Regions from separate parts of the Homo sapiens genome. Here all the other regions are linked to region 4. The links are contacts of gene promoters, found by promoter capture Hi-C in human tissues and cell types (Jung and others, 2019). All regions are on one chromosome and are shown on one strand. The core of a region is centred on a gene start or on the middle of the fragment in contact, and the rest is flanking DNA. Distances in the headings are between cores, read along the strand shown.

What was found. The method cuts DNA at HindIII sites, captures the fragments that hold promoters and counts their contacts. A contact is called where the count stands out against the background at its distance.
Region 1: a contact is called between a fragment that was not itself captured here and the fragment with the promoter of KCNK3 in region 4, in 2 of the 25 tissues and cell types used here (mesenchymal stem cells and spleen).
Region 2: a contact is called between the fragment with the promoter of CIB4 here and the fragment with the promoter of KCNK3 in region 4, in 4 of the 25 tissues and cell types used here (mesenchymal stem cells, mesendoderm cells, neural progenitor cells and 1 more).
Region 3: a contact is called between a fragment that was not itself captured here and the fragment with the promoter of KCNK3 in region 4, in 8 of the 25 tissues and cell types used here (H1 embryonic stem cells, IMR-90 fibroblasts, aorta and 5 more).

What each region holds. Positions count from the first base shown.
Region 1 is chr2:26,656,625-26,659,414 of GRCh38, reverse strand. No RefSeq gene overlaps it. Among named protein-coding and RNA genes, the nearest start is that of CIB4, 17 kb to the right of the region's middle. The HindIII fragment of the contact is 8,435 bases long and covers 1-2,790 here.
Region 2 is chr2:26,639,619-26,642,668 of GRCh38, reverse strand. It overlaps CIB4 (calcium and integrin binding family member 4), which reads left to right and starts at 1,303. Exons shown (of 7, transcript NM_001029881.3): 1 at 1,303-1,408; 2 at 2,102-2,136. The coding sequence starts at 1,355. The HindIII fragment of the contact is 6,817 bases long and covers 1-2,709 here.
Region 3 is chr2:26,752,406-26,755,277 of GRCh38, reverse strand. No RefSeq gene overlaps it. Among named protein-coding and RNA genes, the nearest start is that of SLC35F6, 10 kb to the left of the region's middle. RefSeq lists enhancers at 1-745, 746-1,493, 1,494-2,241. The HindIII fragment of the contact is 6,016 bases long and covers 1-2,872 here.
Region 4 is chr2:26,691,444-26,694,345 of GRCh38, reverse strand. KCNK3 (potassium two pore domain channel subfamily K member 3) reads right to left here and starts at 1,624. Exons shown (of 2, transcript NM_002246.3): 1 at 1,188-1,624. The coding sequence starts at 1,470. The HindIII fragment of the contact is 34,558 bases long and covers 1-2,902 here.

The DNA.
Region 1 (2,790 bases), core at 60-2,559, 35 kb after region 4:
TCCTTTGAGCTAGGCTAGTATAAAACAGCCAGGGTCTACCTATCATTCTTGGGGAGTATGGGAAAGCACTGACGGGCCTCTAAAGGGGATTACTTAGTCTGAGATGTTAATACCATTTAGTAATATACATTTAATGAATTTGTTGAATTATGTCTCTGAGGATTGTTTTATTTAGAGCACCACCATCTCCTAATTTGGAATGTGACTATCTTATGCCTGAAATTGATGTGTCCTTGCAATGTTGTGTGTTACTCTGGGATCAGTTGTTTGCACAAGATAAGGAGCTGCGGTGGAGAAGAATGTGGGAGAGAAGGGCTCACTTCTTCAGCTCAGGCTGGAGAAAAAGTGCAAATGAGCCCGACGGGGCTCTGCTCGGTCCATCCTGGACCTGGGAGTTGGTGTCCCACTGAGGTGCTATTTTAACCTGCCCATCCTAGCTTTGGGGAAATATCCTAGCCAGTATTTTATTATCATTTTTTTGATATCCCTATTATCAGTAATGCAAGAAAGAGGCTAATTCTGGTGCAGGCAAGAGGGTTTGGGAGGCAGATCTTAGATGTGAGTGAGAGTAAAAAAACACTTCCTGGGGCTGGGGAGGTGGGGAGAGTTGCTTAGACCTGGACTCCAAGGAAGGGGATAGTTGCGATAGGCCTGGTGGTGGGAGGAGATTTATCCTTCCAGCTCCAGGCAGCTGATGGGTGAGGTGGGGAGGGGGCCTGTGAAGGACTTTGTGGGTTTGTGTTTTTTCTGAGATGGAGTCTCATTCTGTCGCCCAGGCTGTAGTGCAGTGGCACGATCTTGGCTCACTGAAACCTCCACCTCCTGGGTTCAAGCGATTTTCATGCCTCAGCCTCCCAAGTAGCTGGGATTACAGGCATGCGCCACCACACTCAGCTAATTTTTGTATTTTTAGTAGAGACGGGATTTTGCCATGTTGCCCAGGCTGGTCTCGAACCCCTGACCTCAATTGATCTGCCCGCCTCGGCCTCCCAAAGTGCTGGGATTACAGGCGTGAGCCACTGCACCCGGCCATGGCTTTGAAGTTAGCTCTGGGCTAGGTGCTCTCAGCAGAGCCACTTCTAAGAACAGTTATAGGTTGCACTCTGGTGTGTACTTTTCTTTTCCCCCTCAGATTTCAGGAAACTTTTCTTAATTTGCCTTTGGGTGTGCTGTAGAATTAGGAGAAAGCCTGGCACATGGGAGGACAGAGTGAGACCTGACTGGCTCTGGGTGGGATGTGCCAGGGACCGGGGGGCAGGTGGGCAGAGAGTGGTTGGAGGTGAACCTGAGCAGGGTGCCAGGGCCAGAGCCTGGAGAGCTTTGCATGCCATTTGAAGGAAGCTGAACTTACCTTGTAGGCCCCTGAAGGATATTAAGCAAGATGGTGGTGTGATCAAACTTGCATTACAGGGAAACACCCCAGGATTTCTCATGAATTTATAGACAGCTGCAGTGGACGTCTGCTGTTTTTATCTGCCCAGCACCTCTTCCACCCCTGCTGCAGTAACAGAACCCCTCTTTCCTGTGGGGAACCTTTTTCATGTGAAAGGCAGAGCTGACTGCAGTCTTCTCAAAACCAGGGAGTGTGCTCATGACCCAGGCCAGGCCAACAGGAATGCCTGATCGGGCAATGGGTACTGTTTCAGGGACAGGGCTGTGATTCAAGTTTGGGCCTAGGACTTTCCCAAAAGAGCTTCTAGAGGAAACCAATTCATTCTGGTGGGGTCTCTAAGCTGATAGGATAAGAATCTAGTGCTACTGGTGACCAAGAAGGCTTCTTGCCATGTGGAGAGAAAATGTTTGATAGATGGCATGAGACAGAGCCCCAGGGATTTAGTTTGAGGCACAAGATCCAGCCATAGATAATGCCAAGTAGAAACGATCAGGTGAAGGAGAGAGAGACTTAGAGAACCCTGAGGACATGTTGAGCTACTGGATCCAGCCATTCCTGAAGCTTACTTGACTTGCCCTTTTACATAAGCCAATACATTTTTTTCTTGCTTAACTTACTTGGTTGGATTTTTCTCACTTAGGAGTGAGAGTCCTCACTAATAATTGCATGTTCTTCCCGATTGGCTCTTCCCTAGACTCAATATCCCAAATTCAGGCGGGCACGGTGGCTCATGCCTATAATCCCAGCACTTTGGGAGGCTGAGGCAGGCGGATCATGAAGTCAAGAGATCGAGACCATCCTGGCCAACATGGTGAAACCCCATCTCTACTAAAAATACAAAAATTAGCCGGTCATAGTGGCATGTGCCTGTAATCCCAGCTACTCGGGAGGCTGAGGCAGGAGAATCGCTTGAATCCAGGAGGCAGAGGTTGCAGTGAGCCAAGATTGTGCCACTGCACTCCAGCCTGGCAACAGAGTGAGACTCTATCTCAAAAAAAAAAAAAAAAAAATCCCAAATTCATTTTACTTCTGAGATGGTTTCTAGATCCCCCTCCTCCCTGGTCACCCTCCTCTGGATGGAGATGCCCACATTAGTTCCCTGAGGAACCCTGCTTTCTTAGGCTTGTATTGCAGTAAAGTACATGATGGACTCTTCTCTGAAGAAATCGAGATATAAACTTGATACCTGTGGGCTGGATGTTGGTGAGGCCTTTTGAGGGCACTCTGGTCAGGGCCAGGCATGATTGGAAGTAGCTACACTTTTTTTTAAATTTTAATTTTAATTTCAATAGTTATTGGGGTACGATTGGTTTGTGGTTACAAGGATAAATTCTTTAGTGGTGATTTCTGAGATTTTAGTTCACCCATCACCTGAGCAGTATACATTGTACCCAATT
Region 2 (3,050 bases), core at 54-2,553, 51 kb after region 4:
CGTTGTCTCTGTCTGCCCATCCTGCTCCGCCCTGTTCTCTTCCCTGTAGGAGATCACAGAAAGAGGAGAGAGTGGGGCTGGGGTGGTGCTTCCAGGTGGGTGGTGCTGGGTCGGGTAGCAGCTCTTTGTTGTTGGGCTCAGGAGTCTGTGTTATCCAGTTATCCATGTGACTTCCCTACACCCTGAACACATCTTTGTGGAGAGTCCTTTTTTTAGACCCTTTTCACATGATCCTGATTTGATGGTGCCCTTTGTTCCTGCAGAGACCCTGACTGATGGGGTGGAACGCCCTTTTCTGTACTTTTTGGGCCACTCCCTGAGGTTGGATCTATGCTGATATATTTCGGCATCCCCATGCCTGGCATAGTCCTGGGGTTGTGGTTCCTTGTTTATTTTTTATTTTGATTTGTTAGAGACAAGGTCTTGCTCTGTCACCCAGGCTGAAGTGCAGTGGTATGATCATCGCTCACTGCAGCCATGAACTCCTGGGCTCAAACGATCCTCCTGCCTCAGCCTCCTGAGTAGCTGGGACTACAGGTGTGCTGGTGTGCACCTCTGCACCCAGCAGGTTGTAGGGTTTTTTTGTTTTTTTGAGACAGGGTCCTAGGCTGGAGTGCAGTGGTGCGATCTTGGCTCTCTGCAACCTCTACCTCCCAGGTTCAAGCGATTCTCCCATCGTAGCCTCTGGAGTCACTGGGACTACAGGTCATGCCACCATGCCAGCTAATTTTTGTATTTTTTGGTAGAGACAGGGTTTCTGCATGTTGGCCAGGCTGGTAGCAAACGCCTCACCTCAAGTGATCCACCAGACTTGGCCTCCCAAAGTATTGGGATTAGAGGCGTGAGCCACCATGCCCAGCTAGGTTGTGGTTCAAATAGCTAGCATTTATTGAGCACTTACTATGTGCCTGACATTATTCCCTGTATTCGTCAATCCTCACAACAATCCCATGATTATCATCCCCACTTACAGATGAGGAAACTAAGACACACAGATATTGAAGAGCTTGTCCCAGGTTACAATGGGGTGGATCTGGGATTGGAGCCCAGGCACTGTGACTCCTGAGCTGACAGTGTGACTCTCAGCCCCATCTTTGGACTGCCTTTCTGCTTGTTGTATGGGACTGATGCCTCTTAGCTTTGGGATTGAAAATAATTTGCTTCTTTGCTAACTCAGCAACTCAGGTGGAATGGGAATGAAAAGAATTTGTTTCTTTGCCAACTCAGTAACTCAGGTGGAATGGGCAGAAGGTGGAATGTAGGTCACCATGGCAACTGGATCAACGAGGTGCCTCAGCTGGCGAGTCCTTGAGGCTGAGGTTCTACTGCTGGCAGACAGAAAGGTGTGGTTGGCATGGGGCAATGCTTGAGGTATCAGATGCACTGGGAGGACCTGGAAGAGTACCAGGTGGGTAGATCGGGCTAGGGACTCTGGGCAGAGGTGGGAGCTTCCTAAAGCAGGTGGAATGAATGGGAAAATTCCTTCCTGACGCTCTAGCAGGGGTGTCCAATTTTTGGCTTCCCTGGGCCACATTGGAAGAAGAATTGTCTTGGGCCACACATAAAATACACTAACACTAATGCTTGCTGATGAGCTAATAAAAAAAAATCACGAAAAAATCTGATAATGTTTTAAGAAAGTTTACAAATATGTGTTGGGACCCCATTCAAAGCTGTCCTGGGCTGCATGTGGCCTGCAGGCCGTGGGTTGGACAAGCTTGCTCTAGAGTTTACCAGGCGGGGTAGCGGTGGTCCCTCTCTTTGCTAAATCTGCATCCATGTGGCCCAGATGAGATCTCTAAGGTTACCTTCCTCCATCTGTCTCCTGCACCAGAGCCCAGAGTTTCACTCTTGTCTCTGATCTGCTCTCCACATCTGTGCCAATGCCCTCCTTCCCAGGGCTGTAAGAGACTAGGGGGTAAGAAAGAGCACCATTTCCTCTCCTGCTGCCACCTCAGGCATCCACCTCAACCTGGGGTTCCCCCAGCTGTGCAGCAAAAGAATGGGCATTTCCTCCCCAGCCTCTGAATTGCGCCACTCCCCAGGGGCCACAGCAGGGATGAATGGAGTGGACACGTCGCTTCTCTGTGATTTGTTGCAGGCCCTGACCTTCCTGACCAGAAATGAAATTCTGTGGTGAGTAGAAGCCCCGCCCCTCTTTCCTTCTCCCAGCTCCTCCCTCTGAGCTGGATTCTTGCCCTAATACAGCCTCACGCTGGTCCCTGAGTGTGGTCCCTGCTCAGAGCCACACAGCCCTGGAGATGGGGCTGGGACACGGCAGGCAGGGATGGGAGGGCCCAGGGGCCACGATCCGCAGAGCCCCACTGGAGCTGAATGAGACACCAGGCTTTAGGCTGCTAACCTTTTACTGGGATCCAAAGTGAGGTTTCTTCAGAGGATCATGGAGCTGGACAGAACCTCTTTGGAATAATGAGGAGAACAAGGAAAGGACTTGGGGAACTTATGTCTGAAGCCCATTTTGGCTGTCCACTGGCTGGGTAAACTTGGATGCATGACTGAAGCCCAGACTTCCCTCTCCACCTCCCTCCCTCCCTCCCTCCCTCCCTGCCCTTTCTCCGGTGCCTGTGATGTGCTGGCCTCGTGGAGGCCCTGAGGGTGGGGTGGTGAGCAGCCCCGCTCCCTGTTGTCATGCGGACCGCTGTCCAGTGGGGAAGAAACTTCATTCAACGTGGAGGTGGCCAAATACCCTTCTCGTGGGGCTGTGGGGGAGAGTGAATAGTGTGAGAGGTGTGTGTGTGTTTGTGTGTTTGGGCCAAGCCAGGTGCCCAACAAAACCTGTTAGATGAATAAAGGAGCTCACCAAGACACTTTCAGGGGAAGGTGGGGGAAGGTTCCCTCTCATCATCTTTGCTTGGACTAACCCTCCCCAGTCACCACACGGAAGCCACATTTCCCACTCAGGGTCTGGTGGTGGCAGGTAACAACTTTGTCACAAGTGCAAGACTCTCCAGGCACAAATGAGGATGGGGGATGGCCAGGGCACGGGGAGCTAACCAGGGGCTGTCACCCAGTGACATTGTTTCCCTTTT
Region 3 (2,872 bases), core at 37-2,536, 61 kb before region 4:
GGGTATCTTGCTGCCTGTCTCTCCCAGCGGGGTTGGTATTGATGGGCAGTCACCTGGAACTGTGGCTAGAAAGAGGAACAAGAGGCTTGAGAGGAAGAGGACTGGGGTGGATTCCGGCTGGAAGCAGGTCTGACAAGACTAGATCTTGGAGGAAGGGAGTGTGGACTGTCTACACTGGCAGAGAGGCATAGATATTGGAGCTCATCAGCTCATTCTGGCTGAATTTACAGCTGGTTTCTATGGTGACCAGAGATGATCAGATTATAACTCACCTGCTCCTTCTAGCTGCAGGCCCTCCTAAAGTCATTCTCAAACCTTCTCTTTTTTCTTTCTTTTTTAATTTAATTTTTTTTTTTAGATGGAGTCTTTCTCTATCACCCAGGCTGGAGTACAGTGGCACAATCTCGACTTACTGCAACCTCCACCTCCTGGGTTCAAGCAATTCTCCTGCCTTAGCCTCCCAAGTAGCTGGGATTACACGCGTGCACCACCAAGCCTGGCTAACTTTTGGATTTGTAGTAAAGACAGGGTTTCATCATCATGTTGGCCATGCTGGTCTCAAACTCCTGACCTCAAGGTCTTGGCCTCTCAAAGTGCTAGGATTACAGGCATGAGCCACTACATCTGGCCTCTGTTTTCTTTCTTATCATCTCCTTTGGTCTCTACCCACCTCCCCGCTCCCACCTCTCACCCCCATCAGTGCTGATCACTAATCTTTTTTTTTTTGAAACAAGGTCTCACTCTGTTACCCAGATTGGAGTGCAGTGATACGAACTCGGCTCACTACAACCTCTGCCTCCCAGGTTCAAGCAATTATCCTGCCTCAGCCTCCCGAGTAGCTGGGACTACAGGTGACTGCCACCATGCCTGGCTAATTTTTGTCTTTTTAGTAGAGATGCAGTTTCACCATGTTGGCTAGGCTGGTCTCGAACTCCTGACCTCAGGTGATCTACCCGCTTCGGCCCCCTGAAGTGTTGGGATTACAGGTGTGAGCCACCACGACCAGCCCTGATCACTAATTTTGAGGTGGTCATTAGATTCTGGAAGCTTGGTCCTCTAAGAGCAGGATCAAGTCAGATTCAGATAAAACAGAAACTCCCAGGTAAATTTGATTTCAGATAAGCAATGAGTCACTTTGTAGTATGAGTATGTCCCTAGTGTTTAGGACATACTTATGAAGCTGTCCTCACAGGCTTAACAAGAATCTTGGACAGAAATATAGTTATAATTAAGCATAATGAGGCTGCACTTTCACCCACTTCCTTGTAACAGAAAGTCGCATAGCACTAGATACTGACCACTTGAATCCCCATTGTTCCTTTAGATTGGATCTCTGACATTAGAATCATAAGGCTTGGCTGGGCCTGTGATCCCAGCATTTTGGGAGGCTGAGGCAGGTGGATCGTTTGAACTCAGTGACCAACCTGGCCAACGTGACAAAACCCCGTCTCTACAAAAAATACAAAAAATAGCCAGGTGTGGTGGATTTGTGCCTATAGTCCTAGCTATTCGGGAGGCTAAGGTAGGAGCATCACCTGAGCCTGGGGAGGTTGAAGCTATAGTGAGCCATGATTGTGCCACTGCACTCCAGCCTGGGCAACAGAGTGAGACCATCTCAAAAAAAAAAAAAAAAAGAATCATAAGGGTTTTGTTTAAGAATTGCTTAAGATGTTTTTCAGGTCCCTGAATTCCAGTGAAACAGCTGATGCCAACCAGTTTGAAGACCTCCACAGAGGAATGAAAGCAACATAAGAATAGTTTCTTCATTTCCTTGTCCCATGACTTCATGCACTCTTTGCCTAATCAACGATCTCCCCACTTCAGCCCTCTCCAAAACCCTTAAAAACCCTAGCCCCAGGCCAGGCGAAGTGGCTTACACCTGAAATCCCAGCACTTTGGGAGGCCAAGGTGGGAGGATTGCTTGAGCCCAGGAGACCAGTCTAGGCAACAAAGTGAGACCCTGTCTCTATTAAAAAAAAAAAAATTTTAACCAGGCATGGGCACACGCCTGTGATACTAGCTGTATGGGAGGCTGAGGCAGAGGATTGTTTGAGCCCAGGAGGTCGAGCTCCAGCGAGCCATTTTTGCGCCACTGCACTCCAGCCTGGGTAACAGAGAGAGACCCTGTCTCAAAAAAAACAAAAAACAAACAACAAAAAACCCCCAGCCCCTGACTCCCTGGGGAGATAGATTTGAAGTTTCCTCCCTGTCTTCTCAGTGGACCTGTATTAAACCTCTTTCTCTGCTGCAACCCCGTGTCTGGGTGTATTGATTTGACAGGAGTGTCAGGCAATTAACCTATTACAGTTACGCTTAGAGTAAAAAATGATTCATTATTTGTCTAAAATTCAAATTAGATATGTATCCTGCATTTCATTTCTCAGTCTGGCACCCTGCTGGTCTGGCATCCAGCTCAGAGCCCTTGCTCAGAGACAGTGACTATGACAACAGCTAATTGAATTAGTGCATCTCAGGCACATTTTCCTTTCTAATATGCTGTTGACTAAGCTTACGATATTTTCTCCCTCTGACTCAGTTACATCTCTAAATTGATACCAGCCCCCTTGGACATGGCCTTCACCCTAGGGAAGCCTAGGTTCCTGTATTTAACACCATTCTCTTTTTTTAATTTTTTAAAAAATGTGTTATTTTTAAAAAAATAGAGACAGGGTGTTGCTATGTTGCCCAAGCTGGTCTTGAACTCCTGAGCTCAAATGATCCTTGTCCTTTGGCCTCACAAAGTGCTGGGATTACAGATGTGAGCCACTGCACCCAGCCCTGTATTTAACACACATCTAGAAAATTCGGAGCACAGACAGATTGAGAACACTTTCCTCTTTTGCATACAGTTTCAGGGTATTCCCAGGTCTCA
Region 4 (2,902 bases), core at 375-2,874:
GACTAGGGAGAGGAGAGGGAACAGTAAAGACAGAGGAAACTGCTTCTGGAGGCATCTCAATGGGCTTTGGGGGAAGGTGGGTTTCATCTCAGAATCCAAGCACGTCGGGGCTGGGGAGGAGCTCTTGAGATCATTTTGGCCACCCCTCCTTGTCTGGAGGTGAGCCTGAGACCCAGACAGGGGAAGGGACTTGCCCAAGGTCATATATCACGGTAGTGATGGAGCTGGGCTGAAATCATAGGGTGTTGGGGACAGGTAAGGTGTTATTCCCGTCTGGACAGTTTTGAATAGCACCACCAAGGGCCTGGCTAGAGATTCCTTTCCTGGGCAACGTTTGTTCTCTCTCTCTCTCTCTGTCTCTCTCTCTGTGTGTGTGTGTGTGTGTGCCCGCCCTGTGTGTACCCTGTGAGTGCCTGTGTGTATCTGTGTGCATGTGTGCCTATGCCTGTGTTGTCTGACAGTCTGGGTGTACGTGTGGCCTCCTACATGGTGATCTGCCCTGGCTTGGAAAGAACTGGGGTTATTCCTGTGAGGTGACTGTTTTGCTGGGACAGCAGAGAAGAAGGCTGACAAGGCCAGATCTGGCTTCCCGCACCAATTCTGCCGCTCTGAGAAAATCACAGGCACTGACTGGTGGCGACCAAACTCCTGGAGCTGAAACACGCAGACACACGTACACTCACAGCCGCCGTTATAGGGTGGCCCCAAGTGCCCCGAAGTGCCGCATTCCGACATCCTCATGCCTCCCCAGAGCCCAGCAGGTGTAGACCTGCTAGGCTGTGGAAGCCGATCCTCAGGGATACGGAGCACTGGCGCTCTCCCGCCGCTCACTCTCAGCGCCCTGTTCAGGGCCTGGCCCGGCCACACCCCTCCTGCCCGAGCCTCCGCCGGTCGTCCCTGCCCCTCTCACACACTTCGGAGTCCCTGGGGGCCTATGCAACATGGCAGGGCCAAGTTAGGGCTGGCCCGGCCGGAGAGTCAGGTCCGGAGCCAGGAATCGACGCCTCCCCGAGTTCCGTCCCCGCGGAGCACACACGCCAGGCTGAACTCGGGTTTCTGCGAGCGCAGGGTTCGGCGCCCAGCCCCTCTCGGGGGAGCCCCCGCCCCCAGCCCCAGCCGGCCCCGGACGACTCCCGGAGCCCCGCGCCCAGCCCTGGGTTCCCGCCCCCCGCCCGGCGAGCCGTTACCGATGGTGGTGATGACGGTGATGGCGAAGTAGAAGGAGCCGGCGAAGCGCCACTGCACGCCGGCCTTGTGCGGCTTGAGGCGCAGCACGACGCGCTCCAGCTCCTCGTAGCCGCCCTGGCTGAGGTTGTAGCGCGCCCGCAGCTCCTGCTGCCGCAGCTCCAGCCGCTGCCGCTCGATCAGCTCGGGCTCCGACTCCAGCGCGTCGAAGACCGCGGCGCCCACCAGCAGGTAGGTGAAGGTGCACACGATGAGCGCCAGCGTGCGCACGTTCTGCCGCTTCATCGTCCCGCCCGGGCCGCCGCCGGCCCCCCGGCGCCCCCGGCCCGCGCCTCGGCCCCGGCCGCCGCTGCTGCTGCCCCGGAGGCGGCCTGGGGCATGGCTGCGCTCGCCGCTCTCCGCGCCGGGCACCCGCTCAGCGCCCGGGGCCGCCGCCGCCGCCGCCGCCGCGGAGCTGTCCCTTCAGCACCACCCACCGCCCTCCTCCGCCCGGCCCCGCGCCCGCCCCCCGCCCCCCGCCCGCAGGCCGCCTCCTCCCGCCAGCCCTCCCGCCCAGCCAAATAAGGACTGGGGAGACGCGCCGAGGAGGGAGGAGGGGGGCTGGCGGAGGGGACGGGAGGGGCGGCCGCGAGAGAGCCCGGGCAGGACAGAGAGAGAGAAAGAGAGAGAGAGCGAGCCCGAGAGACAGAGAAAACTAGACAGCGAAACGCTGATAACTACGGAGAATGGGAGAAAGGCAGTGTAGGACTGAGGGAAGGGGGCTGTGTGACAGAGGAGGAGATAAAATCAGAGGTGCACTCAGACAGAAAAAGAAGAGAGGCGGGCAGAAAAATACAGAGCAAAAGATGGAAACAGAGAGAGCAACAGACTGAGACAGAGAGGCCTGGATTGCTGGAGATAAACTAATGACAGAGAAACAGACAGGAAGGCAAGGAAGGCAGAGCGAGCCCCTCCCCACCCCACCCTCCACCCTCATCACAGCATATTGCAGCCAGGAGGCACTTGGGGCCTCGCTGTCCTGCCCTTATCCTATGGATGAGGAAATGGAGGCCCAGAGAGGTCAAGTGACACGCATGGGCACGCAGTGATTTCGTGACAGCACTGGGACTCAGCCAAGCGTTCCTTCCTCCCAGGCCACACTCCTTCCTCCCTTGGGCCAGACTCTGGCTGTCTTGGAAGCAGGCAGGGCCCAGCTGTGGACCTGGGCACACATGAGCTGACACCCAAGGGAAAGCCCTGTTCTCAGGCAATGTGTGCCTTCCCAGGTCAGCACAGTTCTTGGAACTGGCTGAGAAGGCACAGGCTGGGAGTCTAGGCCTCCTGCTTCGCTCCCAGGGGCTTCTAGGCTGTCCCGACTCCCATGGTTCCTGTCTTGCACCCGTGCACCAGGCTGGGCTTAGGCTGAGTTGCCAGAGATAGCACCTGCCACCACCTTAGGGCATCCCAGCAGAACCGGGATCTAGCTGGAATTGGGCAGGTGGGGCCCAGAGCAGGAGGCTCACTGGCAGACTGCGGGAACTGGGGCAGGAGAGGGGGTCCCTATGCCTCAGTTTCTTCATTTGTCAAACATGGTGGCTATGGTGGTGAGGTGGGAAGGGTAGTGGAAACTCAGGCATTACTGACCCTCTCAGAGCCTTGTTTCCTTATCTTTTCAACGAGGTGTCGTAGCAGATGATCCCACAGGCCTTGCCCAGCTCTAAACAACTCCAGACTTGGA